Linked DNA regions of Homo sapiens: regions 1 and 3 are each linked to region 2. The links are contacts of gene promoters, found by promoter capture Hi-C in blood cells and fetal thymus (Javierre and others, 2016). All regions are on one chromosome and are shown on one strand. Each heading gives the region's core, a stretch centred on a gene start or on the middle of the fragment in contact. The rest is flanking DNA. Distances are from core to core; before and after follow the strand shown.

The links. Contacts are between HindIII fragments. The CHiCAGO score rates a contact against its expected background, and 5 or more counts as called.
Region 1: the fragment with the promoter of FURIN here is called in contact with the fragment with the promoter of ZNF774 in region 2 in 8 of 17 cell types (activated CD4 T cells, erythroblasts, total B cells and 5 more); the score reaches 12.1 in activated CD4 T cells.
Region 3: a contact is called between a fragment that was not itself captured here and the fragment with the promoter of ZNF774 in region 2, in 1 of 17 cell types (naive CD8 T cells). The highest score is 5.8, in naive CD8 T cells.

The regions. Positions count from the first base shown.
Region 1 is chr15:90,867,123-90,870,535 of GRCh38, forward strand. It overlaps FURIN (furin, paired basic amino acid cleaving enzyme), which reads left to right and starts at 1,466. Exons shown (of 16, transcript NM_002569.4): 1 at 1,466-1,589. RefSeq lists enhancers at 1,998-3,197, 2,440-2,489, 2,557-2,851, 2,590-2,699, 2,637-2,931. The HindIII fragment of the contact is 27,514 bases long and covers 1-3,413 here.
Region 2 is chr15:90,349,756-90,353,550 of GRCh38, forward strand. ZNF774 (zinc finger protein 774) reads left to right here and starts at 2,529. Exons shown (of 4, transcript NM_001004309.3): 1 at 2,529-2,656. The HindIII fragment of the contact is 4,226 bases long and covers 316-3,795 here.
Region 3 is chr15:90,988,875-90,992,518 of GRCh38, forward strand. All of the region lies in intron 1 of PRC1 (protein regulator of cytokinesis 1), which reads right to left. Among named protein-coding and RNA genes, the nearest start is that of PRC1, 3.8 kb to the right of the region's middle. The HindIII fragment of the contact is 7,498 bases long and covers 1-3,644 here.

The DNA of each region.
Region 1 (3,413 bases), core at 216-2,715, 520 kb after region 2:
TTTAATGCTACAAGGGCTCACACACCTCCCCACCTTAGAAAATGGAGTATGATCAACATGATTGATCCTTTCCTTGATTCAGCATTATCACCAACACGATGGAAAGTGATCTCAGATGTCATGAGGATGCATGATTGTTTGCCCTGATCACTAAACGGCCCATTGTTGTGCTGGCATACTGGGCAGTTTCAAGTTTGGGAGTTTTCTCCCTCACTGCTAGCTGTCTCAGAGCTTAGTTCCCAGCAGACAACTCTTGCTGCCTCGAACCCTGGCACACTAACCACCATCCTGTGACGTTCCCACTCCTCATTCTGCGACAGTGGTTCTTTGCTGGGAGAGATTTTTGTCTCCCAAGGGACATTTGGCAATACCTGGAGATCTTTTTGGTTGTCATCATGGGAGCGGGAATGCTACTAGCAGCTAATGTTTAGTGACTAGGGATGCGACTGAACATCCTGCAATGTAGAGTGCAGTGTCCCCTACAGAGAATTATCCGACCCAAGATGTTGATAATGCCAAGGTTGAGAAACCCTGTTCAGGATGACAAACTGATTGAAAACTCAACAAGGGGACCGGGCGTGGTGGCTCACGCCTAATAATCCCAGCACTTAGGGAGGCCGAGGTGGGTGTATCACTTAAGGTCAGGAGTGCGAGACCAGCCTGGCCAACATGGCAAAACCCCATCTCTACTAAAAATACAAAAAAAAAAAAAAAAAATACGAGTGGCGTAAGCCTGTAATCCCAGCTACTTGGGAGGCTGAAGCATGAGAATCGCCTGAACCCAGAAGGCAGAGGTTGCAGTGAGCTGTGATCAGGCCATTGCATTCCAGCCTGGGCAACAGAGCGAGACTCTTGTCTAGAAAAAAAAAAAACAAACCCATAAAACAAACAAACAAAAAAAACTATGAGGATTGAGTGATTCACATTTCTGAATCGAGAGAGAGAAGGATGGGCAGCAGGCTTGTTGAAGCTGGAAGGCCAGGGAGGTCGCAGACTGAGGAAGACCCTGGTGTGTCCCAGGTACCTCCATGCAACCCTACTAGAGAGGTGGTCTCTGGCTTCCTATGGACAAGCTCTAAGGGACCCAGCTATGGGGCACCAGAGCCCAGCGTTCAGCAGCTGCTCAATGAATGTCTGCCAGGCGAGACTGCACCCAAAGCATTTATTAGGTACATAATTGTGGCAGCACTGGCTGGCCATGGAAGGCAAGGCAGAACACAAGGAGCTGGAGCTGGCGGAAGGAAGTCATTAAGTCAGCCAGTGGCTGGGATGCAGCAAAGCCAGGCAGAAGGTAAGTGCAGACCCACCCCAATAAATGAGGAAAATGAGAAGGGCTGGCTGGCCATGTTAGGATCCAGTTCCAGTGCGACCAGATATGTCACCACCACATCACTTTTAGCTCCTCCCCCCACCCACAGACACCCTGTTTGCCTGTCATATAAAGAAGGTTTTCCCAAAGTGGTTTAGCCAGAACTGGAAGGGCCCCGCCCTGTGAAGGGATAGGAGCCTGACTGTTGCAGCTGCAGTGAGTGGCGGGGAAGCAGCAGCGGCCAGGATGAATCCCAGGTGCTCTGGAGCTGGATGGTGAAGTATGGACATGCTTTATTCGATTTTGCATTGACTTAAAGGTTTAATTATTTTAGGAGTTCTTGTAGACATTCCTGAAAAATGCAGGTAGGCAAAAAGAAGAAAACAAAGATCGCAAATGTGACCCTTTCATTCGGAGAGAACACCAATGGAATTTTGTTGTGCACCCTTCTATGCACGTCTGAATGTTGTGTAGACATTCTGCTTACAACTAGGTGTGGGTGCTGCTGCCGAAGGCTTTATTTGCTGTGCCTGAGGTGGACCAGAGATTTCAGAGAAGACTCCCAGAGCACCCCAAGGAGACAACAGGAGTGCTTGGAGTCAGGATGACTGGGTGGATTTAGGACTATGTGATTCTCAGGAGCCTCTCTGGATTAGCCCCAAATCAAGGATAAAGAGAGGCCTAGCTGGACTCTTCCTCCCAGAGCCCTGCTGGGAAAATGGAGCCCCTTTACAGCCCCCACTTACCCATCAGGCCCTGCTCCTCTCACTCATCTCCAGACTTCTGTCACATGCCCAAGTCCTGCTAACTGCTGTGTAAAACTGGTAAGGTGGGATCCAGAGGACCTTGGGCCCCTAGGGCCCCAGGTCAGGAGACCTGGGCTCCAGGGCCAGTTGAGAGTGATAAAGAGAACAATACCTGCCCACAGGACTTGTTGCAATGAGATAAAGGCAGAAGTCACCAGTTGTGGTCAAATGGGATTTTTTTCCAGAGAAGTCTCACAGAGAGTGGCTTTCAAATTCTTTTTAGCAGCAGAATTGTTGTAAAATACAATCTCATGTGAAACCCTAAAATGTGAGACACTCTGGGTGAAGCAGAGAGAGGTGCTCAACTGCCCAATCCTGTCCTCATTCCTCCCTCTCAGGGAGGCACCTCTGAGAACCCACTTTAAAGAATTTTGCCTTATGCAGATTGAAGAGGCAAGCTGGCTGGAAGAAACTGGGAAGCTCCACTTCCCACCGCCTCTGCCTGGGTGGCAGTCATCTGAGCCTAGGCTAGCCCCTCCCCCTCCAAAGACCCACTGCGGGCTCCCCTGGGGCCAGTCTCCAGGATGGGTGGGGCACCTGAAGCAGCAAGTATTGCTATTTTTCTGGGCTGACCTTTCTTCTAGGCCTGAGGACAAGTGGGTAGGTGGGGCCAGCCCTGTCCCTGTTTCCCCTCAATGGAGTTCTCTTGCTCACAGCCTAAGGAAGAAGCGTGAGTCACTTCCTGCCTCAGTCTGACTGCTGGAGTATTGTTCTCCCAACTGTGGCTGGCGCTACCCAGTGTGGCCCCTACAAGTCTTAGTTCCTTGGCGGAGGGGAAGTCCCCACTTTGGGACAAGGCCAACTGGACTTATCTTCCCGCTCAACTTTGAGGACCCAGCATTGTTCCTCCAGTTTCCAGTTCTTGCAGTGTTTGTAAAGGTGCCCGAATCGTACCTGATCCCATTCACTAAATATTATCTCCATTTTATAGAGGGGTAAATTGAGGAAGTCCCTGAGAAATTAACTTGTCTAAGGTGTCCCAGCAAAAAATAGTGCCCCAGGGATTTGAACCGGTTTGCTGATTGATTTTTCACCAGTTGCCTTAAGAATTATCATGATTTAACCTCTCTGGGCCTCAGTTTCCTCCTCTATAAAATGCAGACAGTGATACATCAAAGGTACTTAAAGGAAAATGTACTGTACCCACCTCATGGGGCATGTGGTGAGGATAAAACGGGTTGACACAGGAAAAGAGCTCTCAATGGTGCCTGGCTCATAGAAAACACTCAGTGGATTTTTTTTTTCCCATTACCCGGGAACCTGTGTTAAGGAGGCCACAGGCTGATCCTGTGCAGCCA
Region 2 (3,795 bases), core at 1,279-3,778:
TGAAGCCAGGAGGCAGAGGTTGCAGTGAGCTGTGATGGTGCCATTGCACTCCAGCCTGGGCGACAGGGCAAGACTCTGTCTCAAAATAAATAAATAAATAAATAAATAAATAAATTCAGTTATAGCAAGTGCTGAAGTCTTTCTGTCTTTTCATGCTCCTTGAAGTCCTTTCACAGTTTTTCCTGGCTCTTCTACGCCTCCTCTCGGCCACGCCCTTTAGCACCCAACCCCTCAACAGGTAATGATCCTCTCTTCACGTGGCCATTGCGGGTACATGATTGGTTTCCTGTACTGACTGCTCTTCTCGTGAGACCAAGCTTCCTTTCCCCTACTCCCCACACACCTGATCATTGTGAACAAACCGCCGAGAGAACAAGGTAAGGCAGAAGGAACAGAAGCTGCAGAGAGCGGCAGGGGATAGCCACCAGCCAGATTCTGTGACTCTTCATTCATCTCCCCACTCCAGTCCCAGATTGAAGAATAATCTTCATGATCTCCTTAATGGCAAAATGCTAGAAAGACTTACCGAGGGGTCTGAAGATGCCTTCGGTTCTCCAGGTCCTGAACTCTGTTCCAGTTACAGGAGGACTGGCAATCCCTAGGTTTCCTGGGTGTTACTTTGTTACTGACCTCCTCTGAGATTTCCATTTTCCTCAATTTCGTCTAACTAAATCTAACTACGTCTAACTACCTCTGCTAACCAGACATTTGTTCATAGTCGACAGAGTTTCCGAAAATGCAATGTAGTTACCTTGCAGATGACTATAATTGTGTAGCAAAATAACTAAGATGCCACTGGCTATATGGAAAAAAAAATTACTTAGGATTTTGATACCTTTTATGGTTTATTTCCCCTTTTGGCCTGTGAACTTCATGAAGGTAATGGTTATGTATGATTCCCGAGTAATCACAGTTCCCAGAACGATCTTTTTTTTTTTTCTTTCTTTTTTTCTTTTTTGAGACGGAGTCTTGCTCTGTCGCTCAGGATGGAGTCCAGTGGCGCGATCTCGGCTCACTGCAAGCTCCACCTCCCGGGTTCACATCATTCTCCTGCCTCAGCCTCCCGAGTAGCTGGGACTACAGGCGCCCGCCACCACGCCCGGCTAATTTTTTCTATATTTAGTAGAGACGGGGTTTCACCATGTTAGCCAGGATGGTCTCGATCTCCTGACCTCGTGATCCTCCCGCCTCGGCCTCCCAAAGTGCTGGGATTACAGGCGTGAGCCACCACGCCCTGCCCCCAGAACGATCTTGAGAACAGAATGTTCCCAATAAATATCCACTGGAAAATGCACCTTATTTTTGTTGAAGGAATGGTGGAATTAGCATCAAAGGGATCTTCAACATTAACTCGGGCCGGGCACGGTGGCTCACGCCTGTAATCCCAGCACTTTAGGAAGCCGAGGCGGGCGGATCACGAGGTCAGGAGATGGAGATCATCCTGGCTAACATGGTGAAACCCCGTCTCTACTAAAAATACAAAAAATTAGCCGGGTGTGGTGGCGGGCGCCTGTAGTCCCAGCTACTCGGGAGGCTAAGGCAGGAGAATGGTGTGAACCTGGGAGGCAGAACTCGCAGTGAGCCGAGATCGTGCCACTGCACTCTAGCCTGGGCGACAGAGCGAGACTCCGTCTAAAAAAAAAAAAAAAAAAAAACTCTATGGCTGGTAATTCTAAGCGTTTTATAATACATCACAAAATGTTCTTTTATTTTTCTAAATTGCACTGAATCAACAAACGGAGTAGACAGGCACATTTTCTTCACTTTAAGGAAAGACTTTGTTGTTTTTTAGCTAGGGGCCGACCCAAAGTGATCACTGGCTCTCACATGAGACCCAGGAGCCTCCCCAGTTTGAAGCCCGATATCACATTTCCCAGAATACTTGATGCCCTCGCCCGCCTCCTCTGGCTATCAACCAGACGGAAAGGGGATGTGCCTGGGAGTTTGATGCCAAGGGAAGGATGCGGAATGTCTGTTTTCTACTAAGGGCTTCTGCTGGGCCTTTCCAATGTCCAGTTTGAGTTGGTCTGGGACCTGGCCTCCGCAAACACCCTGCAGGCTCCGGCCGCCGGGGATGAGGTGGAAGACTGGGCAGAAGAGAGGCCGCAAAGGCCCGAGGGCTGAGCTGCTCTGCGCTGGGGAGGGGCGAAGTGCCAGAGCGCGGGAGACCTCATGGTGGGCACCAGGCTGCTCCGCGGTAGGTGGGTGAGGCCAGGAGATTCACATCTGCAGATGCCACAGTGAGGATACAGCATTTAGATCCCTCGGCTCCAAACAGGCGGTTCCGGGGGACCGGTAGCTGGGGAATTGGGTTTAGCACTTTCCAACGCTTGGAACTGGACATCCACGGCTCCGAGTCCTTTGAGGTCTTGCTCGGGACTACGTTTCCCAGAAGGCTAGGCGATAATTGACAGCTCTATCAGCCTATGGACAGAGAAAAATTCTAGCCATGGAAACTGAAAAGCCAATAGCAAGAGGATGGGGGCGGTACTTTCCGGCCGCTGGCTGTCGAAGCCGGAGTCCCACCTGTGTCCCCACAGCCCTGTCACGAATCCCGGTCGGGTTCTGGGAGGCACAGCCTCGGGGTTGCGGGCCGGGTGCGGCTCGGCGGTGGAGGACTCACTTCCTGCTCCATCCCCGGCTGGGCCCTGGGGCGGTGAGTGATTCAAGGAGGGAGACCGCGGCGGCAGCGGCGCGCTGCTGAGGGGCGTGGAGGGGGCTTGCCCGCCACCCAGACGTTTTCTCAGCGGGGTTCCCGCGCTGGCCTTTGGGAGCCCCCGGGTCTTGCTGGGCTGTGGGAGAGGTAGCTGTGGTCTCTATACCGTCGGCGGGATAAGTCATTCTCTTAATCAGTTTTCTTGCTTCTCGATGGTGGTCCCAGGGTTTCAGCTGATCTGTGACCCTCTGACCGCCGCACCCCGGTTAGGGCGCGAGCACCGAGAAGAAGAACGGGGTTCGGCCCCACGCGTGCAGTCATGTTCCTATTAATAAACCCGGTGAACGCACTGGAGCTTCTCACAGTGGCACTTAGTCACAGCCCCTCAGCGCTGTGGGGCCTTTGAGGTCACCTGTGCATGGGGAAAGGGACGGGCTGGGAAACAGGGTTTCTATAACCGTGGCTAAGACGTCTCCCCTCCTCAGTGGCGCTGTCTCCAGCAAGTGGGCCCTGCAGCTGTGTTTTGTAATGAATGTAGAAATAAAAATTATACTCAAAACTCTTTTTTTTTTTTAGACGGAATTTCGCTCTTGTTGCCCAGGCTGGAATGCAATGGCGCTATCTCCTTTCACTGCAGTCTCCACCTCCCGGGTTCAGGCGATTCTCCTGCCTCAGCCTCCCAAGTAGTTGGGATTACAGGCGTGTGCCACCACACCCGGCTAATTTTGTATTCTTAGTAGAGACAGGGTTTCACCATGTTGGCCAGGCTGATCTCGAACTCCTGACCCCAGGTGATCCGCCCGTCTCGTCTTCCCAAAGTGCTGGGATTACAGTCATGAGCCACAGCACCTGGCCAATACTGAAAACTCTTATTACAATTTTTACTTTCTAATTACATTATTGTTGTTTGTTAAAGTTTTAAACCAGAGAGATGGTTTTTAGATCCTTAAAAACTCAATACTTTATAAATGACCAATAATAATGTCTGTAAATACAAAAATATTTCCCCCAAAAGTGTGTGTGTGTGTGTGTGTGTGTGTGTGTGTGTGTGTGTGTTCCAGTAGTAAATAGGTGATTTGTAGTGGGACAAAAGATGTGAAAGAGTAAAACTTCTTCACCACAGTCTGGTCCTTCCTCCC
Region 3 (3,644 bases), core at 1,104-3,603, 640 kb after region 2:
CCTAATAGAGGTATTATGCACTCTGGATCCTGACGAAGGTTTACAAGCAGGGCTGCCTATCTCTGTAACACATCTAGAAGGTAAAGTGATCGTTTTTCTGAGTAAAAAAATCTAGCACAATGGGCAAAGAATCTGAATAGACATTTCTCCAAAGAAGATATAAAAATGGCCAATAAGCACATGAAAAGATGCTCAATATTAGTCATTAGGGAAATGCAAATCAAAACCACTTCATAGCCAACAGGATGGTATAATAAAAAAAAATATATAGCAAAAAGTATTGGTGAGAATCTAGAGGAACTAGAACCCTCAGACACTGCTTGTGGGCATGCAAGACGGTACAGCCTCTTTGGAAAATAGTCTGGTAGTTCCTCAATTGATTTTTTGTTTTTTGAGACAGGGCCTCACTGTCACCTGGGCTGGAGTGCAGTGGTGTGATCATAGCTCAACGCAGCCTCAACGCCCTGGGCTCAAGCAATTCTCCTACCTTAGTCTCCCAAGTAGCTGGGACCATAGACGTGCCATCGTGCTTGGCTAATTTTTTTTTTTTTTTTTTTTTTTAAGGTTTGCCATGTTGCTCAGGCTGGTCTTGAACTCCTGGGCCCAAGCAATCCTCCCACCTCGGCCTCCCAAAGTGTTGGGATAACAGACATGAGCCACTGCACCCGGCCCCTCAGTTTAACAGAGTTCATACAACTCAGCAATTTTATTACTGGGTATTTGCCCAAAAGAAATGAAAACACATTTATACAAAAACTACACAACTGTTTATAGCAGCATTACTTATAATAGCCAAAAAGTGAAAAAAAAAATACAAATGGCCATCAACTTATGAATGGGTAAATAAAATGTAGTATATAGGCATACAATGGAATATTATTTGGCAATAAACCTTGAAAACATTATGTTAAGTCAAAGAAGCAAGTCACAAAAGACCAGAGCTACGGTTCCGTTTTTATGAAATATCCAGAATAGGTAAAAAGTAGATTTGGGGTTTGTATGGTTTTTTGAGACAGGGTCTCCCTCTTTCACCTAGGCTGGAGTGCAGTAACATGATCATGGCTCACTGCAGCCCCAACTTCCTAGGCTCAGGTGATCCTCCCACCTGAGCCTCCGGAGTAGCTGGGACTACAGATGTGAGCCACCACACCCAGCTAACTTAAACAATAAAATTTTTTTTTAGGCCGGGTGCGGTGGATCACTCCTGTAATCCCAGCACTTTGGGTGCCAAGACCGGCGGATCACGAGGTCAGGAGTTTGAGACCAGCCTGGCCAATATGGTGAAACCCCGTCTCTACTAAAAATACAAAAATTAGCTGGGTGTGGTGGTGGGCACCTGTAATCTCAGCTACTCGGGAGGCTGAGGCAGGAGAATTGCTTGAATCCGGGAGGTGGAGGTTGCAGTGACCTGAGATCACGTCACTGCACTCCAGCCTGGGTGACAGAGTGAGACTCCATCTCAAAAAATAAAATAAAATAAAATAAAAAATAAAATAAATAAATAAATAAATAAATAATTTTTTTTTTTTTTTTAAGAGGTAGAGTCTCTCTATGTTGCCCAAGCTGTTCTTGAACTCCTGGGCTCAAGTAGTCCTCCCACCTTGGGCTCCCAAAGTGCTGGAATTATAGGTGTGCGCCACCTTGCCTAGCCGAAAAGTAGATTTGTAGTTGCGGCTGGGGAGAATTTGGACCATGGGGTGAAAGGGGATTGACTGCTAATGGGATTTTAAAGGGGTGATAAAAATGTTCTAAAATTGATTGCAGTGATGATTGCACAACTCTGAATATTCTAAAAATCACTGAATTATAATATACAATTTAAGTACATTGTATGGTATGTGGATTATACCTCAAAGCTGTTATTAAAAACATCTTGGCACATAATCTAAAACATTTTTGGTTTCTTTTTTTTTTCTTTTTTTGAGACAGAGTCTCAGTCTGGCACCCAGGCCGGAGTGCAATGGTGTGATCTCAGCTCACTGCAACCTCTGCCTTCTGGGATCAAGCGATTCTCCTGCCTCAGCCTCCTGAGTAGCTGGGACTACAGGCACACGGCACCACGCCCGGCTAATTTTTGTATTTTTAGTAGAGACGGGGTTTCACCATGTTGGTCAGGCTGGTCTCAAACTCCTGACCTCGTGATCCGACCGCCTCGGCCTCCCAAAGTGCTGGGATTACAGGCGTGAGCCACTGTGCCCGGCCCATAATCTGAAATGTTTTTGATTTGTGACTTAATTGAAAAACTTACAGATTTTTACTATGGCCGGGCGCGGTGGCTCGTGTGCAATCCCAGCACTTTGGGAGGCCAAGGCGGGCGGATCACCTGAGATCAGGAGCTCGAGACCAGCCTGGCCAACATGGTGAAACCCCATCTCTACTAGAAATACAAAAATTAGCTGGGCGTGGTAGTGGGTGCCTGTAATCCCAGATACTCAGGAGGCTGAGGCAGGAGAATCACTTGAACCCGGTGAACCCAGGAGGCGGAGGTTGCAGTGAGCTGAGATCATGCCATTGCACTCCAGCCTGGGCAACAGAGCAAGACTGTCTCCAAAAAAAAAAAGAAATAAAAATTTTACTAATATATAACGTATTTTATTTGGCCTGTTGGAAATGGGTGTTTGGAATTACCAAACACCCATTATTATTATTCTAGTTAGAGACACTTCCTGTAAGAGGATCATTTTCAAATTAAAAACTAACATTTCTCACTCTTCCTAACATTCAAATTGTACTGAACTTAATTTTTTTTTTAAACTTAAATCTTGTATCATCCTTGACACTTCTTTCTTATATGCCCGCCATTAGCATTATCTACACAAGACAGGCAGAATCTCACTCCTCCTGACCTCTGCTGCTACCACTACCACCCCCACCCTGGTCCAGGTCACCACCACCAACTTCTTGCTGTATGGCAGGGGCCTCTTAACTGGTCTCCCGGCTTCGAAGCTGGCCTCCTTAAGTCCATTGTCAACACAGGAGCCCCAAGTCCTAATCTTCTACTCAGAACCCTCCAACGACTTGCCATCTCACTCTAAGGAAAAGCCTCTGACTTTCCAAAGACCTATGGAGCCCCATTCCATCTGAAAGCCATTTCTTTTGACCTCAGTGCTCATTCTATTCCTGTCACAGCGACCTCCTTGCTCTTTCTGGAACATACCAGGCGCTATCTCCCCTTAGGGCACTTGGATTTGCTGATTCCTCTACCTAGATCTCTTTTCCCCCATGCTGCATGGCTTCACCCTTTTCCTTCTTAGGTCTTTGCTCAGAGATCACCTTCTCAGGGAGGCCTTTCCTGACCCATCTCTTTAAAACCACAACCCCCCTTCCTACACCTTCAGTACTTCTTAACCTCTTGATTTCTCTACATAGCACTTACCACCATTTAAGACTAACTTATTTATTACACTCCTCTTTTGCTATTAGAATATAAACTCTGTGAGGGCAGGGATGTCACTTTTGCTCACTGCTATATCCCCAACACTTGCAATGGTTCCTTGTATATAACAAACATTCAAGAAGTATTTTTCTTTTCTTTTTTAGTATAAATTATTATTTTTTAAATAGAGACAGGGTCTTGCTATGTTGCCCAGGCTGGTCTTGAACTCCTGGGCTCAAGTCATCCTCCCACCTTGGCCTCCCAAAGT